Regions from separate parts of the Homo sapiens genome. Here region 2 is linked to region 1. The links are contacts of gene promoters, found by promoter capture Hi-C in blood cells and fetal thymus (Javierre and others, 2016). All regions are on one chromosome and are shown on one strand. The core of a region is centred on a gene start or on the middle of the fragment in contact, and the rest is flanking DNA. Distances in the headings are between cores, read along the strand shown.

Evidence for each region. Contacts are between HindIII fragments. The CHiCAGO score rates a contact against its expected background, and 5 or more counts as called.
Region 2: a fragment that was not itself captured here is called in contact with the fragment with the promoter of SDS in region 1 in 3 of 17 cell types (M1 macrophages, M0 macrophages and megakaryocytes); the score reaches 7.4 in M1 macrophages.

Annotation. Positions count from the first base shown.
Region 1 is chr12:113,402,340-113,408,888 of GRCh38, forward strand. SDS (serine dehydratase) reads right to left here and starts at 1,548. Exons shown (of 8, transcript NM_006843.3): 1 at 1,429-1,548. The HindIII fragment of the contact is 9,232 bases long and covers 1-1,703 here.
Region 2 is chr12:113,187,698-113,194,253 of GRCh38, forward strand. RITA1 (RBPJ interacting and tubulin associated 1) reads left to right here. Exons shown (of 4, transcript NM_032848.3): 4 at 3,613-4,671. The coding sequence ends at 4,120. Among named protein-coding and RNA genes, the nearest start is that of RITA1, 5.3 kb to the left of the region's middle. RefSeq lists an enhancer at 3,795-4,448 and a silencer at 6,407-6,556. The HindIII fragment of the contact is 1,633 bases long and covers 4,491-6,123 here.

The sequences.
Region 1 (6,549 bases), core at 298-2,797:
TGGAGTGCAGCGGCATGATCTCGGCTCACTGCAACCTCCGCCTTCTGGGTTCAAGCGATTTTCCTGCCTCAGCCTCCCAAGTAGCTGGGATCACAGACGTGCACCACCACGCCCGAATAATTTTTGCATTTTTAGTGGAGACAAGGTTTCACCATATTGGGCAGGCTGGTCTCGAACTCCTGACCTCAAGTCATCTGCCTGCCTTGGCCTCCCAAAGTGCTGGGATTACAGGCGTGAGCCACCACACCGACTGACTTGACATTAAAGGCCGGTGTAGGTCACCAAGGCCTGGCCTCAGGGACAATCGGGGTGGGAGTCAGAGGAGCCGGCCACGAAGACCCTTTTCAGGTGGGTTTGGGGCGCCTCTCTCGCCGTTTGTCCCAGGCGGTGCCATGGGATGCCTTCAGGTAAAAGGACAGGGCTCCCTCTGCCGCGGCTTTCCGTGAAGTGAGCATCCATTAACTGCATCCAGCCTGCCCCAAGGATCCCTGCCCCAAGGATCGCAAGACTTCAGAAGAGGTTGTGCCCGGGGAGGAGGAGGGAGGGAGCCCTGAAGCCGCTGTCTGCCCACTCCGGCAGTCGGAAGCCACCTTCCCTTTCACTTGGTTCACAGTAAGTGCTCAGTCGATATGAACTATTATGAAATCTGGGCTGGACACCTTAAGTGCAGGTCATCCTTTCACCGTCACAACCACCTGAGGAGGAAGGCGCTATGCTCATCCCCATTCTACAGATGTGGAAGCTGAGGCACAGAACTGGACACAAACTCAGTGTTTAGGCCCAAATGGCTGTTTTTTAAAAATTTGAGACAAGGTCTTGCTGTGTCACCCAGGCTGGAGTGCAGGGGCGCAATAATTGCTCACTGCAGACTCGACCTCTTGGGCTCCAGCGATCCTCCCAACTCAGCCTTCCCAGTAGCTGGGACTACAGGTGTGCACCACCACACTATACTAATTAAATTCTTTTTTTAGGTCAGGAGTTCGAGACCAGCCTGGCCAACATGGTGAAACCCCATCTCTACTAAAAATACAAAAATTAGCCGGGCGTGGTGGCACACGCCTGTAGTCCAAGCTACTCGGGAGGCTGAGGCAGGAGAATCGCTTGAACCCAGGAGGTGGAGGTTGCAGTGAGCCCAGATTGTGCCATTGCACTTCAGCCTGGGTGACAGAGTGAGACCTCTGTCTTAAAAAAAAAAAATTTTTTTTGTAGAGATTGGGGGGGGTCTCACTCTGTTGCCCAGCTCAGTCTTGAACTTGTGGCCTCAAGCAACCCTCCCACCTCAGCCTTCCAAAGTGTTGGGATTACAGGCATCAGCCACCATGCCCAGCCTTGACAGACTCTTTCTATGTCTCCCTCTTCCCCTGGGAAACCACAGGCTAGCCCGGGACACTCCAGTCCTGAGGTGGGACTGAGGATGGGGCCACTTACCCGGCAAAGGTGATGGGTCTGAGCAGGAGTCAGAGCCAAGCCAGCGAGGGAGGGATCAACTGAGTAGATAGCCCACGAAGAGAGGGGGCTGAGGACGGGTGGACAGTCTTCTGAATGGTCCCAGGGGCTACTTGGTCCTGGGCTTTATTCCTCTGGCACCTCTGGGCAGCCAATGGGGCCCTGGGGCTGGCTACACCCCCCCCTCCCTCCTGCCAGGACCCACCCCCCTGGCTTGAGGCCACTGAGGCTGTCAGAAGGGAGGTGGAATCTGGCCAAGCTTTCTTCTTTGGCAGCTTCCTCCTGCCTTTCCCACAACCCACTCCTCCTCCCTCTTTCCACTTCCCCTTTCTGTCCTCAGTTTCGTGAAAGGAAAATAAAAAATTGGGACCCCCAACTCACTATGCCAAAAGAAAAAGAATTAAGCTAAAAGCTGAGTCATGTAAGAAACTGCCTTTCCTTTAGTTCCTAAGCAGATAGCTTCAGATGAAAGGTTAAATATTGGCTCCGCATTTTGGGAGGCCGAGGCGGGTGGATCACCTGAGGTCAGGAATTCGAAACCAGCCTGGCCAACATGGTGAAATCCCGTCTCTACTAAAAATACAAAAATCAGCCGGGTGTGGTGGCACGTGCCTGTAATCCTAGCTACTCAGGAGGCTGAGGCACAAGAATTGCTTGAACCTGGGAGGCAGAGGTTACAGTGAGACTAGATCTCGCCACTGCACTCCAGCCTTCACAACAGAAAGAAAAAAAAAAGTTAAATATCTCCACAGGTCGCTACTCTATGTTCACCTTATCTTATGTAAAGTGCCGATTTATTGAGATCAAGACAAATACATAATTGGCTACTTCCCTATCTGCCCCTCTTCTCTTACAAACTGTGGATTTGGTAATGTGGCCATAGCCTCCTTCTTTCCCCTCCAGCTTGCTTTTCTCCTTTAAATACTGACACCTAAAGTCATCTCTGGAGAAAAGCACAGACCTGTCTCCCAGGTGCATTCTTAACCCTGGCGAAATAAATTTCTAAATGGATTGAGTCCTGTCTCAATCTTTTTGATTCTTTTTGATTTACAGATTGGAGACTCATGAAAGGGACCCTGGGTGGAGGTGGCCCTGACCTTTGACAAGTCTCCTACTGGTGCTTGGTGGGTCTTGCTCTGTCACCCTGGCTGGAGTGCAATGGCATGATCTTGGCTCACTGCAACCTCCATCTCCTGGGTTCAAGCGATGCTCCTGTTTCAACCCCCCAAATAACTGGGAGTATAGGCATGTGCCACCACACTCAGCTAATTTTTTGTATTTTTAGTAGAGATGGGGTTTCACCATGTTAGCCAGGCTGGTCTTGAAGTCCTGACCTCAAGTGATCCACCCGCCTCAGTCTCCTAGAGTGCTGGGATTACAGGCGTGAGCCACCATGCCGGCCTTGAGCGATCTTGATTGCCCTCCAAAATAGGACAGTTTGCTGAGGCCTGGGAGCTCCCCACCTCCAGAGAACTCCTGATCTCCCACAATTGGTTGATATCTAAGCTTGATTTCCCTGAACAGCTCCTTTTCTGCGTTTTACTCACTTCCAACAAGGAAGGTGAGTTTTCTGGCTTCCATGATGATGGCAAGCAGGCAGCTCCTTTCTGGAGTTTCGCTTGTGTCCGGCAGGGAAGGCAAGTTTGAGATTTCCCCGCTTCTAGGATGGTAGAGAGCGGTCTTCAGCCTGGGCCCCATGACTAGAAGTTAGGGTTAACAACCAGCTGGTCTTAATTTCTCCCTACTTTTAGAGCGTGCAGTAATCGTATAAATTGCTTGATTGTTTGTTTCCCTTGCTTAACTGTTTTTGTTTCTGTTGTTGTTTTGTTGCTTCTGTCTTTTCCCCATTGGACTGGACCAACTCCATTTGACTTGGTCAAATCTGAAGGAAAGTTTCATATTATGGCGAACAAGGTCTCATGAATTGGCTAAATACCCACAGCTGGAAAAAAAAAAAAAGGAAAAAGAAAAAACAGCCAGCAAAAGAAAAAAGAGAGAGAGAGACAAGGATTTTGATTACCTGAGGGGCATTATTTACATAACAAGGCCATCTTTTGCTAGCCAAGCCAAACTGAAAGAGGCTACATGGCTGTCACCTCACGCTAGTTCAGTAGCTAAGATTCTGTTCCTTTTTCACCACCGTGGCCTGGGCTTGGTTCCTAAATCAAGTCCTTTCTGGTTTGATGTTTGTGTTACTTTTGAAATATTAGCAGTTTGTCCCAGCTAAAATATGGTGATGAGATTTAAAAGGATTTTTTAAAGAGCTCAATGGTTAAAAGCTTAATTAAAGGCGAATATCTAAGATGTGTGTGTGTGTGTGTGTGTGTGTGTATTTATTTATTTATTTATTCATAGGGCCTTAATGCATTTTTTTCTCTCTTAGGATCTGTTTTTTTTTTGAGATGGAGTCTTACTCTGTCGTCCAGGCTAGAGTGCAGTGGCATGATCTCAGCTCACTGCAACCTCCACTCCCTGGGTTCAAGTGGTTCTCCTGCCTCAGCCTCCCAAGTGGCTGGGATTACAGGCGCACACCACCACACTGGGCTATTGTTTTTGTATTTTTAGTAGAGACAGGATTTCACCATGTTGGCCAGGCGGGTCTTGAACTCCTGGCCTCAAGTTATTCACCGGCCTTAGGCTCCCACAGTGCTGGGATTACAGGTGAGAGCCGCCCCACTTGGCCAGGATCTTGTTTTTTGAGAAAAAGTTTTCTTTTTTCTTCTCAGTTGACTGATTTCTGTTTTTTCCAATTTACTTCTGCCTGTCTCCTTTCTCTTGCCACCCTCTACAGCTCAAGGAACCTAAAATAATTTCTAACAGCTTGGGACTCCCTTAAGGAAAACAGAGAAAGTGCCAGACTCCTTTTTGGGGAGAAACCTCTGTTTTTCCATAACCTTATGGAGCCCTAAGAATATAAACAGATAAGTTCCTCTCAGATCTTCAACTGCTTGCTTTTGTTGTGTGTTACCTGACTTCTTTTTTGACTAAAATCTTTATTACAACAGGGGCTACTCTTGAATGTTTAAAACAGGAGAGGGTCTGGATGTGTGGGCCTAGTTATATATAAAAAAATTTTTTTTAAAGATAAGAGAGAGTATGGTTTAGACCCTTAGAGAAATGTCTTTGCAACAAAGTACACTGTAAAAGCATCACACAGCCTAGGTCCACCATATCATTCTCTTTGGAGACCCGGGATTCAGTGTGGGCTCTGTCCAGAGCTCTGAGTTCCAGTTAAAAGATAGAAACTAAATGTAAAACTACCTATCTAAATAAAATATATTTATTTGATAGATTTCTATAACTTAATGTTTGATTTGATTTGCTTTTTTTTTTTTTTTTGAGACTCTGTTGCTCAGGCTGGAGTACAGTGGTGCGATCATGGCTCACTGCAGCCTTGACTTCCCAGGCTCAAACAATCCTCCCACCTCAGCCTCCCAAGCTGGTCTTGAACTCCTGAGATGGGAGGAGGTCGAGCCATCCTCCCATCTCAGCCTCCTAAAGTGTTGGGATTACAGGTGTCAGCCACCATGCCAGCTGTGGCATCCATTTTAAATCTCTCTAACACACCCAGACTCTCTTTTCTCTCTTTCTCTACTTTGAGATAAACATTTTGCTATCTGATTTTCATCTAAGAGTTGTTTATTTAGTATGTAAATTTAAGGCTATCTAGCTGGCAGTTGCCTAGGGTAATGAAACAGGTTATCCAGAAATTAGAGGTTGGGCTGGGCGTAGGGTGACTAGCACTAATTCCAGCATGTTGGGAGGCCTAGGTGGGAGGATGGCTTAAGCCCAGGAGTTTGACACCAGCTTGGGCAACATAGTGAGACCCCATCTCTACAAAAAATAAAAAATTAGCTGGGTATGGTGGCATGCAACTATAGTCCAAGCTACTTGGAAGGCTGAGGTGGGAGGATCACTTGAGCCTGAGTGGTTGAGGCTGCAGTGAGCCATGCCCACACCACTGCACTCCTGCCTGGGCAACAGAGTGAGACCCTGTCTCAGAAAAAAAAAAAAAAAAGAAAGAAACAAAGAAGAAAAGAAAAAGAAATTCAAAGTCTTAAATAGGAGGAAAAAAAAGGAAGTCTTATGAATTTATAAGATCTACCTCTGTCTGTGTCTAATACATGTATCTAATGTTACTACTAAAAATAGACAACAGAGCTCTAATGAAATGATTTAAAGAAAAAAGTACTTAAATCAGATACTTTATCAGAAAAATAGAGACTGTGAGCCCAAATGCTTTCTCAGGATTCACAAAACTTGGGACACCAATTCACTCTGCCAAAATTGAGCTGGAAGCTGAGTCATGCAAGAAGCGGCCTTTCCTTTCGTTCCTAAGCAGAGAGCTACAGTAGAAGCTTAAATATGAGACAAACACATAACTGACTATTCCCCTACCTGCTCCTCTTCTCTTGAAACATGTGGGTTCAGTAGTGTGACCGTACCCTCTTTCTTTTCCTTCCAGCTTCCAGCCTGCTTTTCCCCTTTAAATATTGAAGACGTAAAATCATCTATGGAGAAAGGCAAGGACCTGTCTTCTGGTTGTGCCCTTGCCCTTAACCTTGGCAAAATAAACTTTTAAATCGATTGAGAACTGCCTCAGATACTTCCTTTTTTTTTTTTTTTTTTGAGATGGAGTCACCCTGTTGCCCAGCCTGGAGTGCAGTGGTGAGATCTTGGGTTGTTGCAACCTCTGCCTCCTGGGTCCAAGCAATTCTCCTGCCTCAGCCTCCTGAGTAGCTGGGATTACAGGCACCCACCACCATGCCCTGCTAATTTTTTGTATTTTTGGTGGAGACGGGGTTTCACCATGTTGACCAGGCTGGTCTCGAACTCCTGACCTCAAGTGATCTGCCCACCTTGGCCTCCCAAAGTGCTGGATTACAGGCATGACCCACTGAGCCCGGCCTGATACTTCTTGATTTATAGTTTCTTCACTTGCAAATGGGGACAATATCTATTTTCCAAGGACCGTTAGGAAAATGGAATAAGGATTGTGTGAGATAATGCACTTAAAGTTGCTAGCATGTGCTTGGCACGTAGTAGGTGCCCAAGAAACAATAACAGTAATAAAGCTAGAATGTCTAACAGCCACTGAGCCCT
Region 2 (6,556 bases), core at 4,057-6,556, 210 kb before region 1:
AATGAGCTGAGATCACGCCTCTGCACTCCAGCCTGAGTGACAGAGTGAGACCCTGTCTCCAAAAAAAAAAAAAAAAAAAAATTGAAAATGGTTCTTGCTGCATTTTTATGAACAAGTTAGAAAAATAGGAACTAATGCAAATTGTTATTGTTGTTAATTAATTAGATTAGAATTAGATTATTTGGACTGTTTCAGATTAATATCAGCCTGGAGGGAGGTGTCTAGTGGTGAGCCACAGGGCTCTGTCCTGTTTATTGTTATCAGTGGTTTGGACAAAGACACAGAAGATTAGCACAGTAGTTGGCTAGGGCCACCATGACAAAATACCACAGACTGGGTGGCTTAAACAACACAATTTTTTTTTTTTTTGAGATGGAGTCTCGCTCTGTTGCCCAGGCTGGAGTGCAGTGGCACGATCTTGGCTCACCACAACCTCCACCTCCCGGGTTCAAGCGACTCTCCTGCCTCAGTCTCCTGAGTAGCTGGGACTACAGGCACATGCCACCATGCCTGACTTAATTTTTTTTTTTTTTTTTTGAGACGGAGTTTTGCTCTTGTTGCCCAGGCTGGAGTGCAGTGGAGCCATCTCAGCTAACCTGAACCTCTGCCTCCCAGGTTCAAGCGATTCTCCTGCCTCACCCTCCCTGGTAGCTGGGATTACGCCACCATGCCTGGCTAATTTTGTATTTTTAGTAGAGACGGGGTTTCTCCATGTTGGTCAGGCTGATCTTGAACTCCCGACCAGGTGATCCACCTGCCTTGGCCTCCCGAAGTGCTGGGATTACAGGCATGAGCCACCGCGCCTGGCCACAACACAAATTTATTTTGTCACAGTCTGGAGGCTGGAAGCCCAAGATCAAGGTGTTGGCAGGTTTGGTTTCTCCTGAGGCCTCTCTCCTTGGCTTGCAGTTGGCCACGTTCTCACAGTGTCATCATAGGGCCTTTTCTCATTTTTTTTTAATCCTTCAATTACATGCAAGGGCCTTTTCTGTATACACACACACCCCTGATGTCTCTTCCTCTCATAAGGACACCAGTTCTATTGGATTAGGATCCCCTACCCTTATAATGTTATTTAGCCTTAGTTACCTTTTTTTTTTTTTTTTTTTTTTTTTTTTTTTTTTTTTTTTTGAGATGGAGTCTGGCTCTGTCGCCCAGGCTGGAGTGCAGTGGCACCATCTCGGATCACTGCAGCCTCCACCTCCGGGTTCAAGGAATTCTCCTGCCTCAGCCTCCCGAGTAGCTGGCATTACAGGTGCACGCCACCATGCCTGGCTAATTTTTGTATTTTTAGTAGAGACGGGGTTTCACTGTGTTGGCCAGGCTGGTCTCAAACTCCTGAGCTCAAGTCGTTCTCCCGCCTCTGCTTTCCAAAGTGCTGGAATTACAGATGTGAGCCACCATGTCTGGCCAGCCTTAATTACCTTTAATTAATCTAAATAATTAAGGCCAAGTGTAGAGACATTTGGGGTTAGGGCTTCAACATATGAATTTGGGTGGGCACAATTCAGTCCATAAGAACTGGCCAGCTAAAGTTAGGGTTCATTCTGAACCACAGGGACATATTTCAGATGAGAGAAATGAAATGAGAATGGGAATGATACCTATTATAAAAACAAGAATCAGTTATTGCCAGTTCTGTAGACAAGGCAGGGTCAGGTGGAGATTAGCAACACTGATACCTACAACATGGCTGAAAACACTGAGGTAAAGATAGGCTGCATTAGGAAGTATGGTGTCCATGAAAAGGGAGGTGACAACTCCTTGCTCACCTGGAGGGTGGAATTTTCTTCTGGATGCCAACAGGTAGAGGGTGTCAAGTGAGGGGTTGCATAAGAGGTAGAGAAGTTATTGAGCAAAAACCTTGGCACCAGACATATACAGGCATTAGCCAATGTGGTTTGAGCAGCTAAACCAAGTGGCAAAAGCTTGCCCTTTCAAAGACTTGCAGTTTGGGGATAGAAGCACTTTCAGTCCTGGCCAAAAAAACTATGGGCGTGGAATCTTGCAGGTATGCCGTGAATATCTGTTGAATAAAAAAAAAAAAAAAAAAAAAGGCCAGACAGGCTGACTCAGGCCTGTAGTCCCAGCACTTTGGGAGGCTGAGGTGGGAGGATCGCTTGAGCTCCAGAGTTTGAGACCAGCCTGGGCAACATAGTGAGATCCCTGTCTCTACAAAAAATAAAAATATTAGCAGGGCATAGTGGTGCATACCTGTAGTCCCAGCTACTCTGGAGGCTGAAGTGGGAGGATTACTTGAGCTCAGGAGTTCGCAGCTGCAGCGAGCGTCACTGCACTCCAGCCTGGGTGACAGAGTGAGACCCTGTCTCTTAAAAAAAAAAAAAAAAAAGGCCGGGCGCAGTGACTCTTGCCTGTAATCCCAGCACTTTGGGAGGCCGAGGTGGGTAGATCATGAGGTCAGGAATTGAAGACCAGCCTGGCCAACATGGTGAAACCCCCCCCGTCTCTACTAAAAATACAAAAATTAGCTGGGCATGGTAGCACATGCCTGTAATCCCGCCTACTCAGGAGGCTGAGGCAGGAGAATCGCTTGAACCCAGGAGGCGGAGGTTGCAGTGAGCTGAGATTGCACCACTGCACTCCAGCCTGGGTGACAGAGCGAGACTCTGTCTCAGAAAAAAAAAGAAAAAGAAAGAAAGAAAAGAAAATGGGCACGGTGGCTTACTCCTGCAATCCTAACACTTTGAGAGGTTAAGGCAGGGGGCTGCTTGAGTTCAGGAACTCAAGACCAGCCTGAGCAACATAAATCTGATCTCTACTAAAAATCAAAAACAAAAAAATTAGCTGGGCTTGGTGGCACTGTGCCTGTAGTCCCAGCTATTAGGGAGGCTGAGGTGAGAGGATTGCTTGGGCCCAGGAATTTGAGGCTGCTGTGATCTGTGACTGTGCCACTACACTCCACTTGAACAACAGAGTGAGATCGTGTCTCACAAAGAAAAGAAAAAGTGGAGGCTATAAAGACTAAGGTTATACTAATTGTGACTCTCAATTGCAAGTGACAGAAAACTTATTCAAACTGGCTTCCCCAGGAGAAGGCATGTGGGGCTCCTGTAACAGGGGCTCAAACTGTGGCTGGAACTGTCTGTCTCCACCTTAGTGCTGCTTTTCCCTGCATGCCCTTCAATCTTCAGTAGGAAGGAGATAGCCACAAGCTGCTTTGGGCTGACATCCTATCAGCTTAGCAAGAAGTAAAGTCAGGTGGCAGAAAGACATCTCTTTCCTAGTGGTTTCTGCAAGGTCCTAAGGCAGATTCTGATTGGACAGGCTTGGGTCATCTGGCCATTCGTGAACCAATCCATGTGGCCAGGAGGATGGAATATGCAAATTGTCCAGGCCTGGGGCACATGTCTGGGAATGGGGTCAGGATGCAGGGGCAGTGGATGTTTCGCAGGGAAAATCAGCAGAGACCGGGGGCAGTGGTGCTTAAGAGGCTGTGGCCTCGCTGTAGGTTTCAGACTGGGAGACAAGGACTCCTGGGATCTGCAGGCAACCCTCCTCTGCTGCTGCCATCCCAGGGTGGGTGGGAGAGCTGTTAAAGTTTTGAGGGGTTGTTCATCCCCCAGCTCATGGCGTTTATCTTCCATTTGCCAGACCCATCAGCCACACCCCGTCTTACTGTGATGAGTCGCTGTTTGGCTCCCGATCTGAAGGCGCCAGCTTCGGGGCCCCGCGGATGGCGAAGGGGGATGCCGCAAAGCTCCGTGCTCTCTTGTGGACGCCACCACCTACCCCCAGGGGTAGCCACTCGCCCCGCCCCAGGGAGGCACCACTGCGAGCCATTCACCCAGCTGGTCCCTCCAAGACAGAGCCGGGGCCAGCGGCAGACTCCCAGAAGTTATCTATGGGTGGGTTACACTCTTCACGCCCCCTGAAGCGGGGACTTTCCCATTCCCTCACCCACCTGAATGTCCCCAGCACTGGTCATCCAGCCACCAGTGCCCCCCACACAAATGGGCCTCAGGATCTCAGGCCTTCCACGTCAGGGGTGACCTTCCGGAGCCCCCTGGTGACTTCCAGGGCTCGCTCAGTTAGCATTTCAGTGCCATCTACCCCACGACGAGGTGGGGCCACCCAGAAACCAAAGCCCCCTTGGAAATGATACTCTTTCATCAGGGTTGCCTATGGGGCCACGGCGACAGGTATGGCCCCTTGCCAGGGTAGGAGGACATTCATCACCCAGGGAACCCCAGGTATTAAAGAAGCCCCTGTGGGGGCAGACAGACATAGCAGGGGTGGGCAGTGCCTCCCTTTATCCTGACAATCTCTAGTCGATTCTTGCCTTTTTCTCCCGATTGCGGATTTGGGGGCCACCTCTAAGATGCCTCTCTCCAGCCCTGTCTCAACCATACTCCAAATTAGTGCCAACCCAGGGGCCTGGCACCTCCCACATCATCCATTGTCTTGCTGCCAAGTGCGAATAAACGGCGTGATTGCCAACCTGGAGGGTCCCCTCTTATCCCTTCAAGCCAAGCTTCCTGCTCAGGATTAGTTTCCAGCTAAGTCTGCAAGCCCTAGAGGAGTTTTTCCAGGCTGTCTGTGAAGCCTGGGGAACACAACGGCAACTGGGAGATTTGTGAGTGAACACTGTTTCATCTTAATATGCTTCTGAATTTATTTTCATGTACTAAATAGATCAGCTCATCAAAGCCATGAATGTCACTTTTTTTCCCCCTCAGGGTAAAGGCCATTGTTAGGCCTGAGTTGATTTAAATAACAAAGTTAAATACAACAGATAGTACAAGGATGTGGCAGGCAACATGACAGCGGTGAGTGGGTAACTGAAGTTTGGGAATCTGGGGCTTCGGGAAGCGCTGGACTCTTCCTCCCGTCGGCTTCTGGCTAATGCCACTAACTTGTGGTTGGCCGGCTCTTCCTTAGCTCAGAGTACAGACAATAGTATTTTTTTAGTTTTGTTTTTAAGTTTGTTTGTGTGTGTGTGTGTGTGTGTGTGTGTGTGTTAAGGTGGGAAATAAAACACAATGGCTAGGACTTTGCCAAGTGGAGGGTCCAAGAAAGCCAGACAGTGACATGTGTGTCTGCAGAGCACTTAGGATGCAGCCCAGGACTTAGGAAAAGCAACAAAGCCTTTGCGCAGATGGAATTGCACCCAGATTGGGCAGTGTGGGCTGGGCTCTGGGCCTCTCCTTGCCCCCGTCTTCCTGTAAGGCACCTCCAGGAGGCACCAGGATTTTAGGGAGTCCAGTTGGAAGCCACATCATCTGGTTGGTACGTCTGCCTTGGGGCAGGGAAGAGTGGACACTGCTGGGGAGGGAGACCTGCAGTGCCCAGGACCAGTGACACACAGAAACACCTGTGGGGTCAGGCAGGCCAGCTGTGCTCTCATGCAAACATGCTTTGTTTTTTGTTTGTTTGTTTGTATGTTTGTTTGTTTTTGGTGTTTCTTTTTTTTGTTTTGTTTTGTTTTTTAAGACACGGGGCCTCGTTTCCTTGCCCACCCTGGAGTGCAGTGGTGCGATCATAGCTCACTGCTGACTTGACCTCCCGGCTCAAGCCATCCTCCCCCTCAGCCTCCTGAGTGGCGGGGACTACATGCATGCACCACCATGCCTGGCTAACTTCTTTTAAAAATTTTTTTGGACTGGGCGCGGTGGTTCATGCCTGTAATCCCAGCACTTTAGGAGGCCGAGGCGGGCGGATCACGAGGTCAGGAGATCGAGACCATCCTGGCTAACACAGTGAAACCCTGTCTCTACTAAAAATACAAAAAATTAGCCGGGCGCGGTGGCAGGCGCCTGTAGTCCCAGCTACATGGGAGGCTGAGGCAGGAGAATGGCGTGAACCCAGGAGGCGGAGCTTGCAGTGAGCCGAGATCGTGCCACTGCACTCCAGCCTGGGCAACAGAGCGAGACTCTGTCTCAAAAAAAAAAAAAAAAATTTATAGAGAGGGATTTCATTCCTTCCAGTAAGAAACAAGAAAAAAAGGGAAAAAAAAGAGACATGAGTCTCACTATGTTGTACAGGCTGGTCTCAAACTCCTGGCCTGAAGTGATCCTCCCGCTTCAGCCTCCCAAAGTGCTGAGATTACAGGTGTGAGCCACCTCGCCCAGCTGCAATGTGCATTTTAAACATATAGAATGTTTAAGCTTCCTGGAACTTTCACTAACAATTAGTTACTCACGCCCACCTCAGTTTTTCCTGAAACATCCATCTCTCTTTTGCCTTCCCATCTTCCCCTTTGTTTCCACAGACATAGGCCAGAAATAACCTCTCTTTCCTGGCTGGGCATGGTGACTCATGCCTGTAATCCCAGCACTTTGGGAGGCCAAGGTGGGTGGATCACTTGAGGTTAGGAGCTTGAGACTAGCCTGGTAAACATGGCAAAACGCTGTTTCTACTAAAAATACAAAAATTAGCCAGGCATGATGGCGCATGCCTGTAATCCCAGCTACTCGGGAGGCTGAGGCAGGAGAATCGCTTGAAACTGGGAGGCAGAGGCAGTAGTAAGCTGAGATCCAACCAGTGCACTGCAGCCTGAGCAACAGAGCAAGACTCTGTCTAAAAAAAAAAAAAACAA